Regions from separate parts of the Homo sapiens genome. Here regions 1, 2 and 4 are each linked to region 3. Evidence: promoter capture Hi-C in 16 types of primary human blood cells and fetal thymus (Javierre and others, 2016). All regions are on one chromosome and are shown on one strand. The core of a region is centred on a gene start or on the middle of the fragment in contact, and the rest is flanking DNA. Distances in the headings are between cores, read along the strand shown. Region 1 holds the start of ACLY (ATP citrate lyase). Region 2 overlaps ATP6V0A1 (ATPase H+ transporting V0 subunit a1). Region 3 holds the start of GHDC (GH3 domain containing). Region 4 overlaps ATP6V0A1 (ATPase H+ transporting V0 subunit a1).

Region 1 (3,875 bases), core at 697-3,196, 280 kb before region 3:
TGGTGGTGCACACCTGTAGCTACTGGGGAGGCTGAGGCAGGAGAATCGCTAGAACCCAGGAGGCGGAGGTTGCAGTGAACCGAGATCCACCACTGCACTCCAGCCTGCCGACAGAGCAAGACTCTGTCTCAAAAAAAAAAAAAAAAAAAAAAGAATATTTGCTCTAGTGGAATCAGCAAATACCTACAAATACCTATCTGGGTTTGGGACCGCTCCCCAGAACGTCTTAGTCTGCCTCCCCAGTAGCTGAATGTGCTGTCAAACAAGTAACAGATGATTGGGCTGAGCTTGGACTCCAGGAACTGTTACTTGGTAACAGCTAAATGTGTAAACCATTTGGGGGAAATCATGCCAAGGAACCTGAAAACACACACATACACACATTCTCTAAGGGAGGGGCCTTATGAGCTGAATGGAGTCTTTCTGCAGACGGGTGAGTGACCCAGGATTGAGTTCACTTTTAGCAGACACTGAGAGAAGCAGCCCACACAGGAGGCTGAATGAAAGAAGCCTGTTCCCCAGAACACGCCCCTGGGACACAGCCAGGGGAAGGGAATCACTGGGGATGCTACTAAGGGTGCCTCTGGGAAAGACAAAAACACTCATTTGAAGGTTAGTATCTGCAGGATTGGGACTTACGTATGTAGGTATTTATTTATTTATTTTTTGAGAAGACAGGCAATCCCTGGAGTAAATTCTAGAGAGGCAGAATTCTGTGAGTGCCCCTTACTGCGGCAGGCATAGTGTCAGAACGGGGATGGAGCCATAAGCTGTCCAGTGTCTGAGGGGTCTTCCCACTACCGCCCCCCAAGCTGTTTAGGAAGGTTTCTAAGAGGTGAAAATCACCCATCTGGGCAAATGAGACCTACCAGCTGTCCCTCACCCCACATTTTAGTTCAGCTGAGCCAGCTGAAAACACAGAGGAAAGTTAAGGGTGGAGAGGAGTAGGCTAGCTGGCCAAACTGTGCTGTGCACTTTTCCTTATCGTCTCTTCCAAAATCCTCTTCCCAGGAAGACCTCCAGGGACCCCATAACGGCAGAACTCGGCACTGCACGGTATCTGCCAAGGTTGGAGACCGCGGCAGGCGCTGGGACTGGCCCATTGCCAGGCTCGACAGGAGGGCGGCGGCAGCATCCTCCAGCCCCTTGAGGACCTTTCCCCGGCCAGACTTGGCGTCAGCTCAAGGGTGGGGTGGCACCCCGGCCATCTGTCACTTAGGGGCTGGACTCGACGATACCTCCAGTGCGAGGAGGGTCCTTGCTGCGAGATTCCAGTCCTCGCGGCGAGACGAGGCGAGGCCTCGGGCACCCTGGGGCAGCCTGGCCCCGCGTGGCCCGCCCCGGAGGCGCGCATAGCTCATTCTCTCCACTTGGGCGTGGAGCTCAATTTTGTACCCACGGAACCAAGAAGGGCCTGAGCCCGGCCAGTGAGGAATCGGAGTGGGACCAGTCGCCACCGCTTTCTCTACTTCCCGTCCCGGCATCCGATGGGGGAACCCGGATGGAGCCAAAAGGCGTCCCGATGAGCCCGAGGAGCCTCGATAGCTGTGCCCGGGAGGGGTGAGGCGCGCCAGGAGGGGGACCATGCAATGTGGCAGAGGCAGAAGAGGCAAGGATGGCGGCAAGCCCCATGCAAACTCCCAGGAACTGGAATATGTGTGTGTCGCGCGGGGGGAGGGGAGGGGCGTCGACACGCGGCCACCGGCCGGGACCCCGGGCGAAGGCTAACCTAAAGCTAAGACCCTCAAAACTTCCGAGCAGGGCGCGTGGGCACCGAGCCCGCGTCGGGGAAGGCGGTTCCGGGTTGGGGGACGGAGGCAGGAAGCTCCTAGGGCGAGCGGGCTCCAGCCAGCGAAAACAGCCTCCCGTGCTCACCTCTGCCGAAGTCCGTGCGCGGCGCTTCTTCCACAGGCCCGACGAACCCCGCAAAATCCGGAGCACCCCAGCAGCCGGTAGCTTCCCGGGATCCGGCTTTTGTCCCGGCCCAGCCGGACTTTTCCCCGCCCCCATCGGCTCGCGGCGAGAACGGCCCCGCGATTGGCCACACGCGTTCCCTAGCCTGAGCGCCAGGGCTCCTCCCAATTCGCTGCTGGCTTGGCTCCGCCCCACGAGGGCGGGCCCCGGGGCCTGCTGGGACTTGTAGTCCCGCTGGCCCATCCACCGCCTCTTGGGAGCCTGCGGGGCCGGGGCGGGGCCCCGGGTGGGGAGATGGGCCGGGCTAGGCTGGGAGGAGAACGCGCGGTGCTGGGGGTTGTGGCCTGATCGCTTGAGGGGCTGGACAGATTGCCACTCGGGGAGTTGGGGGAGGGGCGGGTAGGATTAGCCCAACTGGCTGTAACGCAGCTTTGGGACCTGGAGTACCCTTGCTCCTTCCCTTGGGAGAAACGGACGTCTGCATCTCGGCCGCACCGAATCCGATTGCTTAGACAGTCTCCTTAAGCAGCAGTGTCTGGCAGGCCGCTTTCCTTTAGCACGTGGAGCCTCTCTCCTCCCTGGACTCTCCCCACTGGGCCGATGAGGCAAGGCTGAGCCGAGGCTAACAGAGCATACTTCCCAGTGTGGGATAAGGCAGGGGCCGCGGTAAGCAAGTGGGGCTAGGAGGGTGCAGGCACAGCGCTGTCCGTCCCACTCACCTGCTCGCCTCAGCACGGATCAGGGCGGAGCTAGGAATTCAATGCGAGATTCCAGCGAAGGGCTGGAGCCATCCCAGACAGTCTCTTGTTCCCACCAACCACAGGCTTAGACACTGGAATGAATGAACTGCTGTCTCCCCCTTCTCCATTACCTGAGACAGATCGAATTTTCCAAACCAAAAACTGGGACATCCAATCTGACAGGTGCTGGTGAACTTGTGGGGCAGAATATGTGAAATCAGTCCTGGAAATCAGGACATGTATTTACCACTCTGACATGCTGCAGCCTCCCTCCCTACCTGCACCCCAACCCTGTAGGTCCGGAGCTGCTCCCTAAGCCTAACAGCTGTCTAGCTCCAGGAAGGAGGCCAAAAGCGTCCACTGACCGACTCAGGTGAAGAGGTCAGCCCAGAATGCAGGGAAGCAGCAGGCCTGTCCCCCTGCCAAGCACTTTGGGTCATACTCACACTGCAACAGTGTTGCGACATTTGCAGACAAAATCTTCTCCAAGACCCCCTCCCCCAATCCTGTTGCTGCCAGGAGTAAGGTAACTGAACTTGCTACCCATGCCTGAATCAAGTGTTCCCTGATGATGTCACTTTCTGGTCCCTTCCCTCCCATTCATCTTTTTGAAATAGCAGTTCCTTATCACCTCTCTTCTCTTGTCCTAAAATGGGGGTGGCCAGTCTTGGTGGCTCACACCTGTAATCCCAGCACTTTGGAAGGCCAAGGTGGGGGATCACTTGAGGTCAGGAGTTCAAGACCAACAAGGCAAAACCCCATCTCTACAAAAAATACAAAAATTAGCCAGGCATGGTGGCACACGCCTATAAATCCCAGCTACTCTTGAGGTTGAGGCATGAGAATCGCTTAAACCCGGGAGGTGGAGGTTGCAGTGAGGTGAGATTGCACCACTGCACTCCAACCTGGGTGACAGAGAAGGATTCTATCTCAAAAAAAAAAAAAAAAAAAAAAAGATACACTCCAGGCAAGGCATGCTGTCTCATGCCTGTAATCCCAGAATTTTGGAAGGCCAAGTCAGGCAGATTGCTAGAGCCCAGAAGTTCAAGTACAGCCTGGGTAACATGGTAAGAGCCCCCACCACCACCATCAAATCTCTACAAAAAATAAAAAGACCGGGCGTGGTGATTCACATGCCTGTAATCCCAGCAATTTGGGAGGCCTAGGTGGGTAGATCACCTGAGTTCGAGGTCAAGCGTTCCAGACCAGCCTGGCCAACAG
Region 2 (4,063 bases), core at 143-2,642, 290 kb after region 3:
CACGGTGAAACCCCGTCTCTACTAAAAAATACAAAAAATTAGCCGGGCGTGTTGGCAGGCGCCTGTAGTCCCAGCTACTCTGGAGACTGAGGCAGAAGAATCAAGTGAACCTGGGAGGCGGAGCTTGCAGTGAGCTGAGATTGCGCCACTGCATTCCAGCCTGGGCAACAGAGCGAGACTCTGTCTCAAAAAAAAAAAATAATAATAAAAAATAAATAAATAGTAACATTAATGTCATTTTTATGGCATTTCACCTTCAGAGTTCTTCAATATATTTATTTGTCTTTTAACTTGACAGCACATTTCATACATAGCCTGGCATATAATATGTATATCATAGCGTAGCATAGCATATCTTTATTTTGCATATGTGGAGACTGCAGTTCAGAGAGCTGAAATAATTTGGTCATATGCCCATGATTCTTCAGGGTTGTTCATGGCCAGGGCATCAGTTTCCTGATGCCCTCTCTGTATATGACTGTTTCTGTTTAGTAGTTAATTAGAACAACTACTCTGTCCACAGAAGTGCTGTAAGTGCCTGGAGGAGTACAGAGATGTATAAAACATGCCCTCGAGTATCTTACAGTTTATTAGGAGAGTTCCAACTATGGAGTTGGAAAAAGCTTTAAGCAGGTGGCATTTGATCAGGTCTTTGAAGAATGATAAGTTGTTGGTAAGACTGCTGAATGAAGAGAAGAAAACAAAGGCAGGAAGTATGGTTAGACCATGTATGTTTGGACAAGAACAGGATTTACAGTGGGTTAGCTGAAGAGAAGTACCTGTCTGCATCAGGTAGTTTGGAACTTAATTGTGAAAGGTTCTTAAATAATAGCTTAGAAGATTTAAATTTTATTCCAGAGGAAGTTGAGAGACATTGGAAGTTCTTTAGGGGTAAAGGAACATGATCAAAGCAGTTTGGGTGGTTTTTTACATTTTTAATTTTGTGTTTGAGACAAGATCTTGCTCTGTTACCCAGGCTGGAGTGCAGTGGTGCCATCTCAGCTCACTTCAGCTTCCAACTCCTGGGCTTAAGCAATCCTCCCACTTCAGACTCCCGGTAGCTGGGACTACAGGTGCCCACCATCATGCGTGGCTAATTTTTTGTAGAGACAGGGTTTTGCCATGTTGCCCAGGCTGATCTCAAATTCCTGGGCTCGAGTGATCTGCCTTCCTTGGCCTTCCAAAGTGTTGGGGCCAGGCGTGGTGACTCACTCTTGTAATCCAGCACTTTGGGAGGTTGAGGCGGGTCATCACTTGAGGTCAGGAGTTTGAGACCAGCCTGGCCAACATGACAAAACCCCGTCTCTACTAAAAATACAAAAAAGTTAGCCAGGTATGGTGGTGGGTGCCTGTGATCCCAGCTACTCAGGAGGCTGAGGCAGGAGAACCACTTGAACCCAGGAGGCAGAGGTTGCAGTGAGCTGAGATCATGCCACTGCACTCCAGCCTGGACAGCAGAGTGAGACTCTGTCTCAAAAAAAAAAAAAAAGTGGGTCACCACGCCTGGTGGATCAAAGCAGTTTTTTTGTTTTTTGGTTTTTTTTTTTTTGAGATGGAGTTTTGCTCTTGTTGCCCAGGCTGGAGTGCAGTGGCATGATCTCGGCTCACTGCAACCTCCACCCTCCACCTCCCTGCTTCAAGTGATTCTCCTGCCTCAGCCTCCTGAGTAGCTGGGATTACAGGTGTGCGCCACCACACCCAGCTAATTTTTTGTATTTTTAGTGGAGACGGGGTTTCATCACGTTGACCAAGCTGGTGTCGAACTCCTGACCTCAGGTGATCCACCCGCCTCAGCCTCCCAAAGTGCAGGGATTACAGGCATGAGCCACTTCTCCTGGCTCAAAGCAGTTTTAAAAGAGTAATCTGCTGATAGTATCTAGGTTGGATTGAGGAGTGAAGAGATTCTGTAGGTAGGGGTTCAGTTAGGAGGTTATTGTAGACATAGAGTAGTAAATGATAAGGATCCCCAGGTAGGACTTGACAATGGGAAAAAAAATGATGAATTGTGAGATGTTCTGCAGGAAAAATCAATAGGGCTACCTGGTTCCTAGCAAGGTGCAGGAGAAATACAAGGAGAAAGATTTAAACATCTTTTTGAGGCATCAAAGCTGACTGGCCAGGAGAATTAGGGTTCCAATGAGGGAAGTAAATGTTCAGCCAGAGAAGCTTATTGATTGGGGAGAGATGGTAAGTTCAGTTCCGGGCACATTGAGGTCTATGTGGAAATGTCAAGCAGACAAGGGAACAAAGCTAAGGAAATGGGAGTCATGAGAATGGAAGGGAATGAGACCTCCAAGAGGGAGGTCATAGAGAGAAAAAAAAGGTTGGGGTCTTGCAATGCTATGAGATAGGCAGAGCAGAAATAACCAGCAAAGATAGAAAAGCAATGGTCAGCGAGCAGGAGGAGAACTCCTAAGGAAGAAGGATTTTCACCAAAGATCTCCAATGTCAGGGGCGTGCATGGGGGAGAGAAGCTCTTTGGTCAGGAGCCAGTCACTTTGCCTAAGCATGCTCAGCCAGACTGCAAGGGATCAGGAAGTTAAGAGAAGGTAGTGAAGAAGGAGAGCCAGAGAACATACTTTGCTTTCTCCATGAAAGGGGGAGAACAACTTTCATAAAAAGGCAGATATGGAGGCAGTTCCACATTTTCTTTGGTGACATATTTTAAAGTTAAATTTTTTTCACATTAAGGATGTATTTCAGAGGATCTAATAGAAATCTTCCATTATAAATGTTATACCTTTTCCCAGTTTTCCCAAAAGCTGGGAAAGATAATCTAGTTTTATTTTTAGGTTTATTAGTTTTATTGAGATATAATTTACATGAAAGAAAATACATACATTTTATGTGTACCATTTGATGAGTTTCAAGAAATGTACACCTGTGTAACCACTACCACAATTAGGAGGATAACCTAAGTTTGATAAATGTGCTAATGTTTTTCAGGAACACAGTGGTTCCACTGTACCTTCCATTTTGAACAGGATGCAGACAAACCAGACTCCCCCAACCTATAACAAAACCAACAAGTTTACCTATGGCTTTCAGAACATAGTAGATGCTTATGGAATTGGAACTTACCGAGAGATAAATCCAGGTAAAAAAAAGCTTGTTATCTTTTTCCTCTAGAGTTTTTTTTGTTTGTTTGGTTGGTTTGGTTTGTTTTGAGACAGAGTCTCCCTCTGTCACCCAGGCTGGAGTGCAGCAGCACGACTGTAGTTCACTGCAGCCTCAAACTCCTGGCCTCAAGAGATCCTCCCAACTCAGTCTCCTGTATAGCTAGGACCACAGGCGCACAGCACCACACCTGGCTAATTTTTTATTTTATGATTTTTTTTTGACTGGGTCTCATTCTGTTGCCTAGGCTGTAGTGCAATGGTGAAATCACGGCTTACAGCAGCCTCAACCTCGTGGGCTCAAGTGATTCTCCCGCCTGAACCTCTGGAGTAGCTGGGACTACAGGCATGTGTCACCATGCCTGGCTAATTTTTAAAATTTTTTTAGAGATGGGTTTTGCTATGTTGCCCAGGCTGATAATTTTTAATTTTTTTTAGAGACGGGGTCTTGTTATGTTGCCCAAGCTAGTCTTGGACTCCTGGGCTCAAGGAAGCCTCCTGCTTCAGCCTCCCAAAGTGCTGGGATTACAGGTGTGACCCACTATGCCTGGCCTTTTTGTTCATTGTTTCTTCTAATGCCTCACTTTAAATGCTGTTGAATAACTGAATTAAAATTAAAGATGTTAATCCTAGCACTGTTTTTTTAATTTAATTTTATTTTTAATTTTTTTTGAGACGGAGTCTCGCTGTGTCACCCATGCTGGAGTGCAGTGGCGTGATCTTGGCTCACCGCAAGCTCTGCCTCCCAGGTTCACGCCATTCTTCTGCCTCAGCCTCCCGAATAGCTGGGACTACAGGCACCCGCCACCATGCCCGGCTAATTTTTTTTTTATTTTTTTTAGGTGAGACAGAGATTTACTCTCGTTGCCCAGGCTGGAGTGCAATGGCACGATCTCAGCTCACCACATCCTCTGCCTCCCAGGTTCAAGCGATTCTCCTGCCTCAGC
Region 3 (3,668 bases), core at 35-2,534:
CTCCGTTGGCAGTGGAGGAGGTAAGGGGGCCATCAGGCTCTGGAATCTGACGGTCCTGTGGGGTTTCTTTCTCTTTGGGTCACCTCCCCAGACCCTGGGAAACACACCTGTGCTCCTTCTGAGGGAACAGTGGGGGCGCTGGGCTCCCTGTAGACACCACCTCAGGGCCTGCTGCTGGCTCTGGTGCACATGGAGCGTGCTCTGCTCCAGCCTCCGCCGCTGCCAGGTGGCTGCCCAGACCAGGGCCCCCCATGCCACTCGGTGCTGGAGGCCAGCAAGCCAGGACAGCCTGGCATCCTGGGACCGCTGCTGCCTGAGCAGGGCCAATGTTGGCAGCAGCAGCAGCAGCAGCAGCAGTGGCCACAGCAGCATCTCCAAGCAGCTCCTGGGAAGAGGAAGGAACCGAGATATGGGGGCATGCAGCAATTATCCATTTCTCCTCCCACGCTCTACTGCATACAGGAAAACCGAGGAAAAATGAAATTGGGAAGAAGGCAGGACCCTGTGGGGCAGGTGATGCAAAGGAGAGACTATCAAAGCTTTGGAGTCCCACTGACCTGAGTGCAGATCCTGCCTCTGCCGCTTGTTAGCTGTAGGGCCCTGAGCAATTTAGTGGGCTGCACTGAGCTCTGTTTCCTGATCTGCAAAATGGGAATAAGAATAAGAATGCCTCTTTCAGAAGGTAGGGGTGGGCCGGGTGAGGTGGCTATCATCTGTAATCCCAGCACTTTGGGAGGCTGAGGCAGGAGAATCACTTGAGCCCAGGAGTTTGCAACCGGCCTGAGCAACATAGGGAGACTCCATCTCTACAAAAAATTGAAAAACTAGCCCAGCGTGGTGTCACACCCATAGTCGCAGCTACTTGGGAGGCTGAGATGGGAGGATCCCTTGAGCCCAGGATGTCAAGGCTACAGTGAGCCAAGATCGTGCCACTGCACCCCAGCTTGGGCAACAGAGTGAGACCCTGTCAAAAAAAAAAAGAAAAGAAAAAAAAGGGAGAAAAGAAGGAAGAGGAAGGGAAGGTACAGGAAGGGTTTCGGACAGGGTCGGTCGGGCACACAGCAGCTGCGTAACGATATCTCTTGCCCACTCCCGAGTGGCTTTGCTTTCTCTCGGGATCCACCCTGTCCCAGCTCCTTGTCCCTCCTGAGCCCCAGGCTGTGGGGTCCATGCCCACATGCACCTGTCACAGCCCACTTCTGCCTACTCCTGGCACGTGACGGAGACCCCTGGGTGACTCTGGGTCTCAGCACACATCCGGCCAGAAAGAAGGAGCGATGGCTTTAAAAGGCTGGGCCCCAACTGGGAAATCCGGCCACCAGGCCTGAGGGAGGAGCTGAAGGAGGGGGGTGCTCTTAAAGGGGCAGGTCGCCTACAGGACTTCATGTCGGGTGCTAGCCCAGGCTGGCAGTTGGGGCAGTTAGGACCAGACTAGCATGGTCCTCAAACTTGCGCAGGTGAAGGAACAGAAAGGTGTGTGTGGGAAAGAACGCCATTAAGCCACTTGAGCTGGGAGAGGGGCAAGCTTAAGAACTCTTAAAACCCCAACTCAGCTGGGCGCGGTGGCTCACGCCTGTATTCCCAACACTTTGGGAGGCTGAGGCGGGTGGATCATCTGAGGTCAGGAGTTTGACACCAGCCTGACCAACATGGTGAAACCCCATCTCTACTAAAAATACAAAATTAGCCAGATGTGGTGGCACATGCCTGTAATCCCAGCTACTTGGGAGGCTGAGGCAGAAGAATCACTTGAACTTGGGAGGCGGAGGTTGCAGTGAGCTGAGATTGCGCCATTGTACTCCAGCCTGGGCAATGAGCGAAACTCCGTCTCAAAAACAAACAAAACAAAAACAACAACAAAAAAAACCCCATCCTCTCCCTCAAGGTAGTTGAGAAAGAAAACAATTTTATTATTGAATAAGCATTCAACCACAATGTGATGTACATGACAGGTGATCTGCTAAGAGCTTGCAAAGAAGGGAGGAAATCTTACTTTTTTGTATAGCCAAGCGCATACAACCCATTACATACACGTTTTCAAGATAAACAATAACGAGTCCTCAAGTAAGAGGACTTGTCACATATAGTTTATCTTTTTTTTTTTTTTTTTTTTTTGAGACACAGTCTTGCTCTGTTGCCCAGGCTGGAGTGCAGTGGCACAATCTCAGCTCACTGCAACCTCCACTTCCCAGGTTCAAGCGATTCTGCTGCCCCAGCCTCCCAAGCAGCTGGGATTACAGGTGTGTGCCACCACGCCCAGCTAATTTTTGTATTTTCAGTAGAGATGGGGTTTCACCATGTTGGCCAGGCTGGTCTCAAACTCTTGACCTCAAGTGATCTACCCTCCTTGGCCTCCCAAAGTGCTGGGATTACAGGTGTGAGCCACCACACCCAGCCAGTCACATAGTTTATCTTAACTTTACATGGTTATTAGGTGAACATCTGTGTTAGCTTGCTGGCTTTATCCCAAGGAAAATTACAAACTTCTTTTTTTTTGTTTTTTTGGCAGAGTTCTATTCTTGTTGCCCAGGCTGGAGTGCAATGGCACGATCTTAGCTCACTGCAACCTCCGCCTCCCAGATTCAAGCAATTCTCCTGCCTCAGCCTCCCGAGTAGCTGGGATTACAGGCACGCATCACCACACCCAGCTAATTTTTTGTATTTTTAGTAGAGACGGGGTTTCACCATGTCACCATGTTGGCCAGGCTGGTCTCAAACTCCTGACCTCAAGTGATCCACCTGCCTCGGCCTCCCAAAGTGCTGGGATTACAGGCCTGAGCCACTGCACCCAGCCAGTCACATATAGTTTATCTTAACTTTACCTGGTTACTGGGTGACCATCTGTGTTAGCCTGTTGCCTTTATCCCAAGGAAAATTACAAACTTCTCTTTTTTTGTTTTTTGTTTTTGAGACAGGGTCTTGATCTATTGCCCAGGCTGGAGTGCAGTGGTGCGATCATAGCTCACTGCAACCTCAACCTCCTGGGCTCAAGAGATCCTCCTGTCTCAGCCTCCCAAGGGACTGGAACTACAGGTACGCACCACTACGCTCAACTAATTTTATTTTTTGTAGAGACGAGAGAGCTCCCTATGTTGCCCAGGCTGGTGTGTTCTTGACCTAGGCTCTCAAAACACTAAAACCACTCCCTTTCTCCCCTTACTTGCCTCTGGATACCTTTGAGAAGAGAGCTACTACTTGCTGAGCACCTCTCTTCCCTTCACAGCTGAGCTTCTTTCAACAGGTCTGTTCTCACTCTGGCTAACTCACCTCACTTTCACGTTTTTTCTCGCTGAGATCTTGCATTTGCTTTTATTATTTATTTAAAGACAGGGTCTTGCTCTGTTGTCCAGGCTGGAGTTCAGTGGCCTGGTCACAGCTCATTGCAACCTTGAACTCCGGGGATCAAGCAATCCTCCTACCCCAGCCTCTGAGTGGCTAGGACTACAGGCATGTGCCACCACACCCAGCTAATTAAAAACATTTTTTTTTTTTTTTTGTAGAGACAGGGGGTCTTACTATGTTGCCCAGACTGGTCTGGAACTCCCGGTCTCAGCGATCCTCCTACCTTGGCCTTCCAAAGTGCTGGAATTACAGGTGTAAGCCACTAGACCTGGCCCAGTAACAGCTTTATTAGATATAATTCACACACCATACAAATCACCCATTTA
Region 4 (3,976 bases), core at 1,112-3,611, 310 kb after region 3:
AAGTGAAAGTTTATACATGTTTAGTTTTTTGTGAGAAACTCAGAAGACCTCACATGTCCTCAGCTGTTCCAGTGAGACCTCTGCTCTCCGATGTGTCGTGTGTACTGTCATCTGGTGTCATAACCAAAGTGATCTGTCTTGATCCTTCCCTCTTCTGATACTAATTCAAGATTCAGTAACAGCACTTTGAATATTTGTCCTTAAAAACATCTTTTAAACAAAATCTTACAATGCACAAATATATTAGCCTAATATATTCTAAGTTATGAATGAATCTATAAGATTGTAAAAGTCTCACCAGTAGTGATTACGCATTACTTCTATGTGCTCGAAGCATATACTTCTTTAAATAAAATGAAAGATTTAGATGGATAACCATTTCCTTCATTAAGTGTTTCTGATGATTTTAAACTTGGAAAATTTCTTATGGTCATCCTTCTGGAACTAGTCTAAGTCATCCTTCTGGAACTAGTCTAAAAGGGCTGACATTTTGAGTCAGAAAAAATTTTAATCTTGCTGCTTAAAATACATTTTCAAGTAGGGACTTCCCTGTGAGACATTTAACAAACCTTTAGAACACATACTACCTATTGTCAATGTCCTTAACACATACTCTTTTTTCTGCTAGTCTTAGCATATATAAGATGTGCTTCTGACAAGATCTTAATGCATTTAAGTCTTGCGACTTCTTCTGTGATAAATTCTAAGTTAAAAGTTCCCCGTTTGGAAACCTGCACATTCATAGGGTCTTCTTACCCCACTGGTTCTTTAGCCAAACATCTGTTCCTGGAGAGCAGCCTGAAGGCATCAGGATGATCAGTCTACAAGAAAGTCTCTGGATTTTTGACCCCAGAGGGCTGAGGATATGAACAGTGATCTGGTTTTGTTCTGTTCTTTGTCCCCTTGGTTGTCTGTGAGTGATATATCACAGTTTAATTTTTCTTTTCTTTTTTCTGCTGACATGTGTCTCTCATCCCCCTTCCTGTAACTCTCATTCCTGTGTTCTGAAGAGATCATTATTAGTGTCTGGCTGGGAGATTTAACCTGTCTGCTCCTCAGTTTATCTGCTAGTTGGAGAAAGCTTCAGAAATGGCCTTCTACTTTGGGAGCCTTGAACCTTGAAGCCTTCCTCCTATATCTTATAACCCAGCCGAGGTTATGCAGGAGTCCCCTCCTGTGCCCTTCGTTGCATTTTCAGTCCACCTTCTGAGGGTTGCCAGGTGGAATATGTGCATGACCTGGAGGTGTCCAGGCTCTGGTGGCCCACAAGTCTGACTGCACATCACAGTCACCTGGTAGACTTTGAATTTGTTTCTTAGGGTATTAAAACAAATAAGTGGAAGAAGAAATAAAAGTGGCCCATAATTTCATGGTCCTGACAATCCCCTACTGACATTAAAAAAATAAAGCAATAGGTGCACTTGGCTAGAGAATGCATATAGTGCTAACTAAGAAGAAAACCACCTGCCCCCACTACAGTCCTCCTCTTCAGGGGGCATTGTTAACAGGTGGGGGCCTTGCCTCTGACAGATATCTGCCTGTCTTCTATTGATAGGTGTGTGTGTGCTCTATGCATCTAGAAAAAGACACATGAGGAATTGTGTTTTAAACTGTGGCACTGTTCTGCCTCTCGATCTATTACGTTTTTTAAAAGTTAGTGTATCTTGAAGATTGTTTCATAGTGATAATCACTTTTTTTTTTTTTTTTCTGAGATGAAGTCTTGATCTGTCACCCAGCTGTAGTGCAGTGGCACGATCTCAGCTCACTACAACCTCCACCTCCCAGGTTCAAGCAATTCTCCTGCCTCAGCCTCATGAGTAGCTAGGATTATGGGCATGCACCACTACGCCTGGCTAATTTTTGTTTTGTTTTGTTTTTGAGATAGAGTCTTGCCCTGTCGCCCAGGCTAGAGTGCAGTGGCACGATCTTGGCTCACTACAACCTCCGCCTCCCCAGTTCAAGCAATTCTCCTGCCTCAGCTTCCTGAGTAGCTGGGATTACAGGCACCCACCACCTCCCCCGGCTAATTTTTGTATTTTTAGTAGAGACAGGGTCTCACCATGTTGGCCAGGCTGGTCTTGAACTCCTGACCTCGTGATCCACCTGCCTCAGGCTCCCAAAGTGCTGGGATTACAGGTGTGAGCCACTGTGCCTGGACTAATTTTTGGATTTTTAGGAGAGACGGGGTTTCACCATGTTGGCCGGGCTGGTCTCGAACTCCTGACCTTGTGATCTGCCCGCTGTGGCCTCCCAAAGTGCTGGGATTACAGGTGTGAGCCACTGTGCCCAGCTGACTATCACTCTTTTTTATGGTTGCCTAGCATTCCATAGAATATTCCACTGGACATGCCAAAGTCATTATCTCTTTGATGGATGTGTTGGTTGTTCCCAATTCTTTGCTATCACAAACAGCAATTCAGGGAACATCCTTTTTCATATGTCTTTTTTTTTTTTTTTCTTGAGACAGAGTCTCGCTGTGTTGCCCAAGATGGAGTGCAGTGGTATGATCTCAGCTCACTGCAACCATCACCTCCCGGGTTTCAGCAGTTGTCCTGCTTCAGCCTCCAGAGTAGCTGGGATTACAGGCGCCCACCTCTACGCCCAACTAATTTTTGTATTTTTAGTAGAGACGGGGTTTCGCCATGTTGGCCAGGCTGATCACGAACTTTTGACCTCAGGTGATCTGCCTGACTCGGCCTTCCAAAATGCTAGGATTACAGGCATGAGCCACCGCGCCCAGCCCCTTATCCATATACCTTGCCAAAGTTTTGCAAGCCTAGATGTTCCAGCAGTGGGATTGCTGAATCTCAAAGGGTTCATGCATTTAAAATTTTGATAAACCCTTCACAATGATTATACAATTTGTACTTGGGAATATATTTTTAAAATACAGATTTATTGGGCCCCACCCCAGAACTACTAAATTTACAATTTCTGGGAGTAGTATTTGAGAATTTCTATTTAAAATGCAGCTTTTGGGGTAATTCTAATGCAACTAGTTCTCTGACCAGCATGTTAAGGACCACTGCTAGAGTAGGAGGGAGGATTTGTGCAAATAATTAGATCTGAGGTGGGCATTAAACTGTGATGAGAGCTGTGGCAAAAAATGGCACACCAGGAGGTGGAGCTGAGGATGAGGAGCGCAGGGCAGCTGCGCAGGCCTCCTGCACGCTACTCATGCTGCTGCCCGAAGGCCAGGTTGCAGGAGAGCTGCCCTTGAGCTCTTGCCTTGTTTGGCCCCCTGGACAGAAACCATATGAAGTGATTCTGGGGGCTGCTGTTTAAATTCCTTTTCACGCTGTGGCAGGTTAGCACTAATTGGGATCTGTGAGACTTAACTCATTTCTGCCTGGTTTTTTTTCCCAAAGAGTCTTTTTTGCTTTGGGTTTGGAAAAACTCAAGTTTTTTCAAATCAAGTTGACTTTAAAATCTACTTTTGGAGACCCTACAAAAGACTGTGTTTGTGAACTCAGAAGAAGCAAATGCCCCATCAGCGTCTGCCCACGTGCCTGTGGAAGAATTGTTCTAACATTCCAGAGCTGTCTGCTGAAGAAAAGGAGCCCCTACTCATCTTTTTAAGCTCAGCATTCTCTAGCCACAAGTGAATGTACATTAAGCATTTTTTTCCTTCTCTGACCTTGGAAGCTTTTTGTTCCTGGGCAGAGACATGGTACATTTCTGGAAGAAGTTGCTGGAATTCTTGGGCTCCTGTTAAAAGCTTATCAGACTAGGGTACAATCACAATGTCACTTGGCCCCCCTTCCTCTTAGAAAGTCTAATCGTTAGGGCCAGAAAAGCTTAGGCCCTTGCAGCCTTTACAGATAGAGCTGTACTTGTTGTGAGAATCTGTTCATATTAAGGTTTTCATTCAAGCAGGATTCTCAATTAGTGTTGACCCAGGTGAGGCTGGTGCCTCTTGGCACAGCAGACAGAACTGCATATTTCCTCTGAAGCAGGGTAAGGTGGTAATTGTAG

The links. Contacts are between HindIII fragments. The CHiCAGO score rates a contact against its expected background, and 5 or more counts as called.
Region 1: the fragment with the promoter of ACLY here is called in contact with the fragment with the promoter of GHDC in region 3 in 2 of 17 cell types (M0 macrophages and megakaryocytes); the score reaches 5.6 in M0 macrophages.
Region 2: a fragment that was not itself captured here is called in contact with the fragment with the promoter of GHDC in region 3 in 2 of 17 cell types (endothelial precursors and activated CD4 T cells); the score reaches 5.8 in endothelial precursors.
Region 4: a fragment that was not itself captured here is called in contact with the fragment with the promoter of GHDC in region 3 in 1 of 17 cell types (fetal thymus); the score reaches 5.3 in fetal thymus.

Annotation. Positions count from the first base shown.
Region 1 is chr17:41,917,005-41,920,879 of GRCh38, forward strand. ACLY (ATP citrate lyase) reads right to left here and starts at 1,947. Exons shown (of 29, transcript NM_001096.3): 1 at 1,876-1,947. RefSeq lists silencers at 1,350-1,589, 2,070-2,329. The HindIII fragment of the contact is 30,796 bases long and covers 1-3,875 here.
Region 2 is chr17:42,487,541-42,491,603 of GRCh38, forward strand. It overlaps ATP6V0A1 (ATPase H+ transporting V0 subunit a1), which reads left to right. Exons shown (of 22, transcript NM_001130021.3): 11 at 2,947-3,097. Among named protein-coding and RNA genes, the nearest start is that of MIR548AT, 5.2 kb to the right of the region's middle. The HindIII fragment of the contact is 1,543 bases long and covers 622-2,164 here.
Region 3 is chr17:42,193,210-42,196,877 of GRCh38, forward strand. It overlaps GHDC (GH3 domain containing), which reads right to left and starts at 1,285. Exons shown (of 10, transcript NM_032484.5): 1 at 1,184-1,285; 2 at 558-641; 3 at 108-385. The coding sequence starts at 372. RefSeq lists enhancers at 1-303, 1,198-1,427. The HindIII fragment of the contact is 986 bases long and covers 538-1,523 here.
Region 4 is chr17:42,503,345-42,507,320 of GRCh38, forward strand. All of the region lies in intron 17 of ATP6V0A1 (ATPase H+ transporting V0 subunit a1), which reads left to right. Among named protein-coding and RNA genes, the nearest start is that of MIR5010, 8.9 kb to the right of the region's middle. The HindIII fragment of the contact is 2,565 bases long and covers 1,080-3,644 here.